Linked DNA regions of Homo sapiens: all the other regions are linked to region 1. Evidence: promoter capture Hi-C in 16 types of primary human blood cells and fetal thymus (Javierre and others, 2016). All regions are on one chromosome and are shown on one strand. The core of a region is centred on a gene start or on the middle of the fragment in contact, and the rest is flanking DNA. Distances in the headings are between cores, read along the strand shown. Region 1 holds the start of FANK1-AS1 (FANK1 antisense RNA 1). Region 2 holds the start of INSYN2A (inhibitory synaptic factor 2A). Region 3 holds the start of NPS (neuropeptide S).

The links. Contacts are between HindIII fragments. The CHiCAGO score rates a contact against its expected background, and 5 or more counts as called.
Region 2: a contact is called between the fragment with the promoter of INSYN2A here and the fragment with the promoter of FANK1-AS1 in region 1, in 1 of 17 cell types (M2 macrophages). The highest score is 7.3, in M2 macrophages.
Region 3: the fragment with the promoter of NPS here is called in contact with the fragment with the promoter of FANK1-AS1 in region 1 in 6 of 17 cell types (total B cells, non-activated CD4 T cells, total CD4 T cells and 3 more); the score reaches 12.6 in total B cells.

The regions. Positions count from the first base shown.
Region 1 is chr10:125,971,924-125,976,348 of GRCh38, reverse strand. It overlaps FANK1-AS1 (FANK1 antisense RNA 1), which reads left to right and starts at 3,076. Exons shown (of 4, transcript NR_102707.1): 1 at 3,076-3,095; 2 at 3,225-3,387; 3 at 3,504-3,612; 4 at 4,008-4,161. All of the region lies in intron 1 of FANK1 (fibronectin type III and ankyrin repeat domains 1), which reads right to left. The HindIII fragment of the contact is 7,061 bases long and covers 268-4,425 here.
Region 2 is chr10:127,193,826-127,198,262 of GRCh38, reverse strand. It overlaps INSYN2A (inhibitory synaptic factor 2A), which reads left to right and starts at 1,672. Exons shown (of 6, transcript NM_001039762.3): 1 at 1,672-2,266. All of the region lies in intron 27 of DOCK1 (dedicator of cytokinesis 1), which reads right to left. The HindIII fragment of the contact is 7,592 bases long and covers 1-3,708 here.
Region 3 is chr10:127,546,722-127,550,769 of GRCh38, reverse strand. NPS (neuropeptide S) reads right to left here and starts at 1,461. Exons shown (of 3, transcript NM_001030013.2): 1 at 1,394-1,461; 2 at 1,200-1,281. The coding sequence starts at 1,401. The HindIII fragment of the contact is 10,264 bases long and covers 1-4,048 here.

The DNA of each region.
Region 1 (4,425 bases), core at 1,827-4,326:
GTCAAACTCAGGAAATACAGGGAACTCCTGCAAGATTCTACACAAGAAGATCATCTTCAAGACACATAATTGTCAGGTTTTCCAACGTTGAAATGAAAGAATGTTAAAGGCAGCTAGAGAGAAAGGGCAGGTCACTTACAAAGGGATCCCCTTAGGCTAACAGTGAAACCCTACAAGCCAGAAGAGATTAGAGGCCTATATTCAACATTCTTTAAAAAAAAAAAAAAAATCTTCAACCAATAATTTCATATCCTGCCAAACTAAGCTTCCTAAGTGAAGGAGAAACAAGATCCTTTTCAGGTAAGCAAATGTTGAGGAACTTCATTACCAGACCTGCCTTATAAGAGATCTTGGAAGGAACAGTAAATATAGAAAGGAAAGACCGCTACCAGCTGATACAAAAATACACTTAAACACACAGACTAGTGTCACTGTAAAGCAACCACACAAACAAGCCAACATAATAACCAGCTAATGACAGGATCAGTGACAGCACCAGCTGACAGGATCAATGATATGATCAAACAGCACAATGTCAGGATCAAATCCACACATATCAATACTAACCTTGAATGTAAACAGGCTAAATGCCCCACTTAAAAGGCACAGAATGGGAGAAAATATTTGCAAACTATGTATCTGACAAAGGTCTAATATCCAGCATCCATAAAGAACTTAAACACATTTACAAGAGAAAAATAAACAACCCCATTAAAAATTGAGCAAAAGACATAAACAGACACTTCTCAAAAGAAGACATACATGTGGCCAACAAGCATATCAAAACCACAAAGAGAGGCCATCTCACACCAGTCAGAATGGCCATTATTAAAAAGCCAAAAAAATAATAGATGCTGGCAAGGTCACAAAGGGAACCTTTATACACTGTTGGTGGGATAAATTTGTTCAACGATTGTGGAAAGCAGTATGGCAATTCCACAAAGAGCTAAAACCAGAACTGCTATTTGACCCAGGAATCCCATTACTGGGTATATACCCAGAGGAATATAAACCATTCTACCATAAACACACATGCATGTGAATGTTCACTGCAGGACTGTTCATAATAGCAAAGACATGGAATCAACCTAAATGTCCATCAATGACAGACTGGATAAAGAAAATGTGGTACATATACACTATGAAATATTATGCAGCCATAAAAAAGAAAGAGATCAGGTCTTGTGCGGGAACATGGATGGAACTGGAGGCTATCATCTTTAGCAATCTAATGCAGGAACACAAAATCAAATACCGCATGTTCTCTTTTATAAGAGGAAGCTAAATGAGAAGAACTTAGGAACACAAAGAAGGAAACAACAGACCCTGGGGTCTACCTGAAGCGGGAGGGTGAGAGGAGCAGAAAAGGTAACTATTGGGTATTGAGCGTATTACCTGGGTGATGTAATACTATGTACAACAAACTCCTGTGACTCATATTTATCTGTGTGACAAACCTTCACACGTACCCCCAAACCTAAAATAAAAATTAAAAAAATAAAAATAGATACACACAAAGACACATAGGACATTACTACAGTTTTCAGCAGTTTACAACAAAACAAAACAAAAGATGACCCATTTATAAGAGACTGGACAAATAAGTTATTCTATGTCCATAAAGTGGAACATTATACACCCTTTGAAAAATGAATTTGTTCTATACTAGGTGCTTTGAAAGGACCTCCACTAAGTATTGTTGGGTGAGAAATCAAGGTGCAAAGAAAAACACAGAATATCTCATTTTTGCCAAAGGTAACAAGGGGTGCAGTAGAGTGTATACCAAGCTGTGTAGCATGCAATTGTTCTATGTTAGTTTTGTCTCCCCTGCTACACTTTAAGTTTCTTACAGGCTGGGTCCATGTCTTACACTTCCTTTGAAACTTCTCCCTGTAACTCAATCCTTCTTGAGCCTCAAATATATCACAGATTTACTGCATTGTTCATTTAAAAAAAAAGGATCTTGTATTTCCCTTGAGCCAATGTCCCAAGTAGCTGACCAGCACCCTCTGAAGACCCAGGGGTCTTCCTGCAGTGCAGACCCACTGACGAAGACAGGGCTGCCCTGGTCTTGCCACCCCAGGCCAGTGGGGCACACAGCCAACAATTTCCCTTACACGAAGACCCCAGAGATATGCTAGGAGGCAGCCTGCAAGCTCACTTTCCCAACTTTATTTTCCAAATGTTTATAGAAAGCATGATGGAATTGGATAAACCTAGGTTTGAATATGTTCTCTGAAACTGAGTTAAAAATACCACAAAGTGTTTTGTGATAATTAAGTTACAAAGTATCTAAATAAATGATGGCATATTTCCTACAGTAAAATCCTATACAACAACTAAAAGAAATTAGCTGTATGAGTTTTGTATACACCTGCATCAACATAGATCAATTCAAAATGGATGGGTGGAAAACATGGGTTGCAAAAGGACACACTACATAACACGCAAAAAACACTACATGTTATTTATGAATGCACAGATATGTAGTAAAAGTTAAAAAGCTGAAGGGAAGAACATACACCACCTCAACAACATAACGGAAGGGATGGGGGCATGATGGGCAGGAGGGGGGTCTTACCAGTATATTTGTAAGGTTTGATTTCTTCATGAAAAGACTTTATGACATATATGGCAAAATGTTAACATCTTAAACCAAATGGTACATTGAGTACATTACCATTTGAAATAATTTTGATATGTTTAAAATATTAGTTTTTGAAAAATAACCATAAAAATCAACAGTATACATTACCCTTATGGGCCTCTTGGTTTTCTTAGAGAAACCAATTTCAGGGTTCTAGATACTGAGGGATACATGTGGAAGAAGGAACTACTGAACCAGACACTGACCTCTTACTGTGAGTCATCTCACTGAATCCCAGCAATTCTGGCTGGTGATGTCACAATGACTCACATCTTCACGTCCTTGTATCACGACATCAGTGTTGAACAAATGATTTTTTTCACAGCCCACTAAAACCAAACACCAGGAATGGTAGACTGTTATGGATTACCCCCAAAATAACCAGAAGCCAACAAGTATTTCAATTCCAAAGACATCCAGCCTAGAATCCTACTAGAGATCAGAACAGGCAAGAAATTCTAAATTAATGTCAAATTTCAAAACAGTTCACCATGAAGTTATATGAGGAGTAAAAAGATAACATTCCCAGAGACCCAAAAGTTTCTTATGGCTTGTTCTTTACTGATCATTGATGTAGGTACATAATGAGAGATCTCCATCAGTGAGCTTGGCACCAGCCACAGGTGGCCCACTGCCACCAGAGCTGGGCACAGGCCCACTTCCAGCTGCTACTCATGATGGAGCAAAAACCCTCACTTCTAGCCATCACCCCTCCAGATCTGGTACAGAGCCCGGAAAAGGTGGGTGTGGTGCTTGGAAAGTTGGTTCGTGTGTGTGTGTGTGTGTGTGTGTGTGTGTGTGTGTGTGTTGGGGGCAGGTAGTGATCCAAATGTAATGGCAGCATGGTCTCTCCAAGGAAGCCTTAGGTGTGAGTGAAGCCTCAGTGAACACACACACGTGTCAGCAATGGACCAGCTGCTGCCAAATCACACAACTACGCAACACGTTGCTCAGAAATGCCAATGGTTAGTGTACGCCCCACTGATAATGTTCCTGCATCTTCTTTACTTTCATACAAAACTCATCAAGATGTAAATCTCCACTTAGGCAAGAGTTGCTTTTTGCAAAAAGCTATTATTGCCAGATAGGACCTGGATGGTCAGGTCATGAATGAATGACCTCATCAGGTAAGAGCTAGTTATTTTCAGAATGCCAAAAAATAGTGGATGGGACCCAATTTGTTTTGCTTTGTTTCTAAGCCAACCTAGAGTAATTTGACAGGTGTATCCTAATCCTTACAATATTAACCCATATACTTTCTACTTTCTCTTTGATAAAAATTCTGGTGTTTTTGTCATCATCTGCTAATATACATATTTTAGGATATTGGTTTTAGGATCCTAAATATGTATATTTACAGGTGACTAGCAGAGTGCAAACATTACTATGACAATGGAGCAGAGGCCCGGGGCGGCACCGAGCCTTGGTAAGAGCCGACAGAAATGGCAGGTCACAGGCCGTCACTGAGGAGAACTGCAATGCGGCAACACTTATATGACACTTAATTTGGGTCATGTACTAGTGTGGATGCTTTATTTATTCATTTAACTTTCACCACATTTAACTTCACCAACTCTATATGCTGTAAGGATTTTTATTATCTCCCTTATAAACAATCTGAGGCACAGAGAAGTTACATAACTTGCCCAAGGTCACACAGAAATAACTGGTAGAACCAGGATTAAAATGAAGATAATCTGGCTCAGAAGTCCCTTACTTTTAACCTTGTACCATACTGCCTCTTAAGAGTAGAGATATAAAATGTAGACCGGAGCGGC
Region 2 (4,437 bases), core at 423-2,922, 1.2 Mb before region 1:
TCCCCAAGGGAACATGCTGGAGAGTGGCAACTTCTCCTATCTGGTTTTAAACGTCCCCAACTCCTATACATTCCCTTCCCAGGCCCCTTCCAGGCAGAAGAGGGGACTGCAGTTTCCATACTGCTCACACAAAATTAAGCATCTCTTTCCAGCCAGCTCCCAACAGCCTCCCTGGTAAGCTGGAAAATCAGCTTGGGGGATCTGAGTTAAGAAGAACAACAAGAAGAGTGAGGTGGGCAGAGTTTGGATCCACAGGCTCAGGACTCCCGTCCTGGGCATATCTGGATCCCCAAGGCTGGCAAAATTGTATACCAAAGGATGCTGCGGGGTAAAGAGGGAAATAGATGACATTTTAGATTTTTTTTTCTTCTGAAATGTCTGGACACACTGCCCAAAGCATCCACATACAAAGAAGGTATTTCGTATAAAGTCATTTATAAAAAACAGACACTCTATAAGGCAGTGATAGGCTCAGTTCAGCTCAGCGAACAAGGATGGAGCTATGGCTTGGTCACAGGCACAGAGCTGGTGCTAGGTGCAGAGACTCAGGGATGTATAGGCAAAGAGGTCTCACTGCCCACTGATGTGTCTGGAGAGGTGGGTGGGTGAAGGGACTTTCCATTTGTCCTCCCAATTTCCTCTCCGAAGCCTGTCCCTTCCCTGGGGTCCACTACTTCTCTGACCTTTCCTGAGAAACAGACTAATAAATGTGGCTACTTACATTTTACATTACATTCTAGGAGCAAATCCAGGGGGCCAGGAGCCCTGCACTCGGCTGGCTGCTTAGTCCCTGGCCCAGACCCCAGGGCCTGACAGGCATCAGAGGGGCCCCTGGGTCTGCTGCTCTGAGCTCAAAACACCCAATACTCTTTGGTGGGTGGGAAATTAAGGGCGGGGATAGCTCCGTGTGCATCCTAGGTCTTTTCCTCTCCCAAGAGAATTCTACTCTGCCACAAAGGAACTCAGCCTCTGCGCCCTGTGGCTTCTGCTGACGGGTGGTGTGTGCTCTGGATGGGGGGTAGGGTTCCTGGCTAGGAGTGGCAGTGGCGCCTGCTCTGGAGTGTCCCTAAATGTCAGCATGCAACATTACCAGGCAGGCCCTCCCACTTCAGTCCTCAGGCCACTCATAGGACCTCCTGTCCCCATGTAGAGAGGCTGACACCAGGTTGGAGCCAGCACTGAAAGGATCCCCGAACTCCTGCTTCTACAAGGCAGCATCCGCAGGTGAGCGGCCAGGCACCTACAAGACACGCACCCTTCAAGCCTGGCTTCCCAAAGCCCCGCCGGGCCAGGCTGGCTGGCACAGCAGACAGTCATGCAGCAGGGTCCCCAGCGACCCCCCATCCCTGAGAGAACACACGGAGTCCCCCGCCCGCCAGCTGCTCCGGAGGCGGCTCCAGGGTAGACTCAACAAGTTCCCGGGCCATGCAGCGCCGCCTGCAGCCCAGAAACCCGGAGGACGCGCTGTGGCGGAGCCCCGCGCGCAGGCGGCAGCCGGCGGCAGCCGGCGGCAGCTCCTTCCACCTCCTCCTCCTCTTCCTCCTCCTCCTCCAGCTCTGGCGGCGGCGGGAGGGGGCTCCTCCACTCCCTCCCTATCCCCCACCCCACGCACGCGGCCCGGCCCGGCCCGGCCCCGCGCCGCCCCCGCCCCACCTCCGCCCCGCGGGGCCCGGGGCTCCGCCCGCCTCGGTGCCAGCCGGGCGCACAGGCGGCAGGCGCGCGGCTTGGGGCGCCCTCGCCTCTGGCCGCCCGGCTCCGCGGAGTAGCTGGGACCTGGAGCAGCGGAAAGGACTTCCCTCCTGCTCCCTCCTCTGCCCCGCCCCCGCCTCCTGGCCCTGGCTCTGAGATCTCGCCGAAGACAATTGCAGTAAATGAGGACATCGGAGGAGCGCGAAGCCGGGTGGCTGTGGCTGGCTCCGCCGCGTCGCGAGCAAGCGAGCGCGCGGGCGTCCCCGGAGCTGGCCCAGCCGCTGCCTCCCCGCGCGCGTCGCTAAGCGGGGCCGGAGGGACGCGAGCGACGCGAGCTGCGGCGCGGGGGCCGGCCGGGCCAGCAGGGCCGGGCCGGCAGCGGTGGAGGGGGCGGGCAGCAGGCGCGCAGCGGGCCAAGTCCCCGGAGCCGAGGCTTCCTCCGCGTGAGCGCGGCGAGTCTGGCCGCGGATGCCCTGTCCGGAGTGCTCCGTGCCGCCCCAGGCTTGCCAGGGTCCGCAGCGAGACATGCCCGAGCCAGGCGCTGCATCGACCTCGACTTATCTGTAAGCAGCGGAAGGTAAGCGGAGCCCCGCGTGCCCTCCTCCCGCGCCCCCGCGCCCGTCGTACTTGGCCGCGGGCAGAGCACCGCTGGGACGGGCGCCGACCCCGATTCGGGCGCACACACTCGGCCCCAAACCGGCTTGGCCGGAAACTCGGCGGCTCCCGGGGCCGGGACACCCCGGTGCAGCCGGGAGCGGACCCGGTGCGGTCGCAGGTGGGGGGCAAGGTTATGCAACTGCATCTGGCGCGACCGGGTCGCTGAGGGGCGTCTGGCAACTTTGGCGACGTCAGGGAGGAGCGGGGCTGCGCCTCTGCGATGTGGGTTCCAGACAGACGCCACAGCTTCGTGAGCGCCCGACAGCCCTAGCCAGGCAAAACTGGGAGATCTGGGGGCGGCCGTCTCCCCGGAAGGTTTCGAGGCTTTTAAGTATTTTCCAAACTAAAGCGCCCTGGAAAGTACAAGTACGGCTGATTAACTTCGGGGGGGGGATGAGTTGGAACAGAGGGGCCCTGACGCCGGCCGTTGAGGAGAGGCGCGAGCAGCAGTGAAGGCAGATGCCCACGTGAAATGCTCGTCTCCTCCACTCGCTGGGGTTGGCACCTTCCCGGGGCTGCGGGTTGGGGTCGGCGCCGCGGGGCTTCCCGGTGCCTGGCAGCCCGAGTCAGACCGGGACAGGCGTGGGAAACCAACCAACGCTGCAGACCTAAGAGACTGCGAGCTGGCGGGCGAGGGCAGGAGGGAGGAGGGAGCCCGCGGGCAGCCCGGGGTCGGGGCAGCTCCTGGAGCCCAAAGTCAAGAGCGAGAGTCTGCATCTTGCTGGTTCATGCTCAGGGCTCCAGGCTGATGTCCCCACTGCTTGGATAAAGAGCCGCTCCCTGTGACCTCAGCATTCTACTACCCAAAAATATGCCACAGGGAGAGGGAGCCAGTGATAAAGAGATGCCAGGAGTGGGGGAGGAGAGGTGCCTCTGGAGTAAATAGGAGAGAAAATGGGTGCGTTTTGCTTATCTACAGCCCAGGGCTCCCGCCCGGACCCCTCTCCTGCTGTTGGTCTGTGCTGGGGAGCTGCACGCGCTCTGGGCCCCTGCGCCAGAAGCAGCGGTGAAGCGGTTTACTTTGACCTTGTCTGCTTAGGCGCTGAAATTCTGCGGAAGCATCCCGAGGTGAAACTGCAAGAGTGGGAATGAACTTTGGGGGAGCCCTGCCTTGGCTGGGAAGCCAAACGATCATTTCAGAAGACTACAGCTCAGGATAGCACAGGGTAGACGTCTGTGCACTTGAACGCTCCCCCCTCAACGAGGACTTGCTAGAGGGTTACCTTTCCATGCCTTATCTCAGTGGGGGGACTGTCAGAGTGACTGCGCTGGCTGGGTACTTGATGAAAAAATACCACTCACAAGACCCGGGCCATTCCCAGAGTAGTACATACATGAAAATGATATAACCCTTATTAAGCTTACGCTACAGCAAGTTACCGTCATTTCACTATGCAGAGGCGGAAAGTGCTGGTTTTTACTATTCCCCCACACTGTACTATTTCTTACATTCATATCCTGTTGAATGTTACTTTTGAAAGTTCATATTTATCTTTGCAATTTTTTTGCAAGAATGATTAGCAAACATGCACAAGGAGCTCAAAGAAAAAATGGAAGTCCTGCCATCTGCATGCCTCACCAGATATTAATCATTTACTATCCATGTTTACTACTTACATTAGATGGCACTGCTCCTCACGATGGTTTTATTAGAGGCGCATTTGGTTAAGGAAAAGAAAAAGTCTAGCACAGCTATCACTAATTGCATGATTTTGCATAAATTACATTAGCCATGGAGAGTTTTGTTTTCTTCACTAAATTCATCATTTTGTTTAAAAGACTAAACAATTCAGTTTAATTTCTTTAGCTAAATGAAAGACTTTTCCTTAAAGACAAGATGTCCTTGAAAAGCTACATATGTCTTTAAACTTATTACAGTTGCCACGACTTTGTATTTTATCATTGTGATTAAGACTTTGAGCTTTCATGTAAGTCAGGCCCTTTATCCTATTAAGAAACAGAATTACTGGTTAAGAAATAGGCTAACAAGGCAAAAGCTGGGAAGCTCCATGTCTGCACAATGAGATTTCTGCAAGCTCTATGGGAGGCTGGGTACTCTATTACTCTGTTTACTTCGGGGGCTTCTCTGTT
Region 3 (4,048 bases), core at 212-2,711, 1.6 Mb before region 1:
CACACTCTTACTACGGAACTAGGTAATAACAAGAACAAAACTGTCACGTGCAAAAATAGAAATAAGGAAAATGCAGTGAAAGGAGAAACATTTCATTTATGGACAAGGAAGTCTCATAAGTATTTTAGAACAAAGTACATTCTTAATTTCTTTTAAAAAAGCTACAGAGAAGAGCCTGTTATTCAACAGAAATGTCATGAGTAAACCTTTGGGGAAAGAACAGAAAGTAATTAGGAAGACACTTGAGAAAATATACCAGTATATGGATTGTGACTCATCAGCTTGATCAATGTGGTGTCTTATAGAATTGATGACTAAATTAGTGTTGAATGCTCATAGGAGGAAACCAAAAAAAAGAAGCTATATTAAATAAACAAGAAATAGAAAAATGACAGATGCAAAGATTAGTGAAAAGGCCAATAATATAAATAACTAGATCATTATGTTCAGACATATATTTATCACTTAGGATTTATGCGACATCCCTTTATCCTAAAAGTAGTTTCATAAATCACATTGATTTCAGTCATTATAATGTGACAGGTTACGTTTTAGTGAAAAAAAGTTCAAGTTCAAAATGCCGTCAATGACAAAAGATATTTTAAAATTATAAACAAAATATTGACATAAAGGCAACTGAAATATTATGTAGAAATAATATTAAATATTCCAAAGAAAGATATTTATTTTCTGAATGTCTTGAACAGTTCAATGAACGTAGGAGTTCAATCAATATTCTCTAATAAATATATGAATTAATATTTTATGTGATATTTTATTTAGAGCTAACGTTTTATCTATATTCTGCATCTGAAAAAATTAAACTGTTTTTGAAAAATGACCACTTTATTTTTAATATAGTTTCCATGGTTAAGTGTTCACTTTGATTATGAATGAATGCATGTGGAATAAATAAATTGCCATTGGCAAAAAAATTACTTTAGATTGAGATGAATATTTCCCTTTGCAGGAGCCAACCCTAAATAATTCAAAACAAATTTGAATATAGTCCAGTGTTACTTGTCACACTAATATTTTCTTTTACTAATGTCATCAATCTGCTGACTTTTTCCCATTGAGAACTCTAATAATAAAGGAAATTACTTTTCTGTCACATATTCCTTGAAAGTATTTGGAATTTACATAATTTACCATTCTAGTCATCTATTTAAATATCCACAACGGAGGCAAATCCTTACCTTAGAAGATGGAACTGGATAACACCAAAACACATGCATTGTGGACAGCGACAGAACTAGGATGAGATTGAGTTTTACTGAGCTGCAAAGTAGAAAAAAAGTACAATCAAGATTTAGTCTCAAGTAGGCAAGAATAAGTAAAACAGCATATGAAAATGCAACATTTTTCTTTGCAGAAAAACGTAGCCTTTTACCTAATCATTTTGGACTTCCCAAAATCTGTAAAGATAGGTGGTTTTATTGCCAAATTTCTCACACTTACTCTCAGACCCTCATTGGGTGGCCCTTTTATACCAGAAAAGTTCGGGAGTAAAAATGTCATCTCATCCCTCCTATATGACTAATTGTTCTGTCTGTGGCCTTTTGTTCTTGTTAAGAAGAAAAGGACATAACATATGGGCATTGTCATTGAGCTGCCAATGATCGACTTCATTTAAAGTTTGCCATTAAGAATGTCCTTCAAAACCATTGTCTTCGAGACTGAATCATTGTGGCATGGGTGGCCAGAGGTCTCAAAAGGAAACAAAAGGTTTTTTTAGCTTAGAATTTAAACCTTTAAGAAGGATGACATTCTTTCCTTGAATGTCCCAGACATTATGTTTCAGAAACTAACACAAAAGAAATACTTACAGGAATAAAGAACATCTACCCAGCTGGGCACGGTGGCTCACACCTGTAATCCTAGCACTTTGGGAGGCCGAGGCAGGTGGATCACCTGAGGTCAGGAGTTTGAGACCAGCCTGGCCAACATGGTGAAACCCTATCTCCACTAAACATACAAAAATTAGCCAGGCGTGGTAGTGCACACCTGTAATCCAGCTACTTGGGAGGCTGAGGCAGGAGGCAGGAGAATCGCTGGAACCCGGGAGGCAGAGGTGGCAGTGAGCCGAGATTGCCCCACTGCACTCCAGCCTGGGTGACAGAGCCAGACTCTGACTCAAAACAAAACAAAACAAAACAAAAACAAACAAAAAAACACATTTACCCAAACAACTCATGCAGATTATTTACATTTTCTACCTTAGATTTCTTTCCTTTAGGACTTCAGCAGTTAAAGCAGGAAAATAAATGTCACACCTTTTCCGCTAGTCATCGAAATAAAGGAAGGACACTGTGTATCCCCTGTCCATGCCATGTACTCCCAAAAGTCCCACGGGCTCCCAAAGTCCCAGGCCCACAGTTCTGGGAGAGCCTGCTTTTCATGGCTTCCTTTTTCTCCCCAGGGTATGGAATTTCTTCAGGCAGCCTTTGCTGTCCTTGCACTTCAATGGGCATCTGCATTAATAAATGGATTCAGGAGCTCTAAGTATGAACAGATGTTGCTGAGGCTTACAATGGAGAAAAACACCAAGGGAGGTGCTTTCTGCTTGGATAACTAGTGTTTCTGAGATGATGCCAACAGTTTTTGAATACAAAGCAACCAAGGATAATCCGTGCCTCCTCGAGATCAGCACCTTTTGGAGGACAAAGCTGCCCTGTGTCTGGGACAGTTGCTGCCAATTTGTTGGCACTGCATTTCTTTCTTTGGGGAACTGCCATTTGCATGATTTTTATGTAGCTGTCAATCATACAGTCACAGTTTGCCATCACAAGGAAAAGCAGATGACCTGGACTCTCAAGAGAACCAAGCTCACAAGATTAGAGCCAAGTTGAGGGGCTGAGGAAGTGATCCAAACTACTTTGATCAGTGTTCTTATGGGACATAGTGTGGATATTAGGAGACAAAGGGCCTAAGAGCACAAAGGGACTGAACACACATATTTACTTTTGGTTGTTTTAGCTAAAACACACACACACACACACACACACACACACGCAGGAACCCAAAAAGAATGCAGAAGGATTTTATTAAGTGATAAACAATTGATCAAGTGGATCTGAGAAAGGTGCTTACTGAAATACCCCCAAAAGACTCAAGTTATTTTTGCATGTAGTGAAGATGGTACCAAAATGGAGGGTTAAGTGGAAATTTGTTTAAGAATCAACTCAATCAATAGCACATCCTCTCCCAACTTCCCATTGCCAGACACTGTCTACTCTCTAGAATTGGCAGGAGATGACAGGTTTATTATTTTTATTTTTTATTTTTGAGACAGGATCTCCCTCTGTTGCCCAGGCTGAAGTGCAGTGGCATGATGATGGCCCACTGCAGCCTTAACCTCCTAGGTTCAAGTGATTTTCCCGCCTCAGCCTCCAAGTAGCTAGGACCATGCGCCATCATACTCAGCTAATTTTTTAATTTTTTTGTAGAGACAGAGTCTCACTGTGTTGTCCAGGCTGGTCTCGAACTCAAACTCCTGGACTCAAGCGACGATCCTCCTGCGTTGGCCTACCGAAGAGTTGGGGTTACAGGTGTGAGCCACTGCATCTAGTCAGAAAGGTTTATTCTAAGGAGAAGGTAAAGAGAAGGAATCAGGTATAGTGAAATGAAAGAGTATCTTTCTAAAAACAAAGATTGAATAAGGATTACACTCAATGCCAAGACTCATGGATCTCTTCCTTGACACAACTCTCAGCACACTGCCAGACAGGTCTTAAACTTCAAGACAAGTCAATGGAAGATCCTCCTATGAGAGGCCCAAGAGGAAAAATCTACAGATACAGACGTTAAGATTTCTAGTAAAAATATCTCAGCCAACTGCAGTACACAGAAGTCCACAGTTGACAATTCCCAATAACACACAAAATCCTGCCATGGGCTTTTTAGTGTCCACTTTTAAGCAGACAACCCAGAGACACACTAAAATGAATGAAGGATATTTATGAAGTCATAATCTAACAAAAACAAAGAAGATAAGAACTCCATAGCCATAGTAATTTATCATGAAAAATGGAGACCAAAACATGCA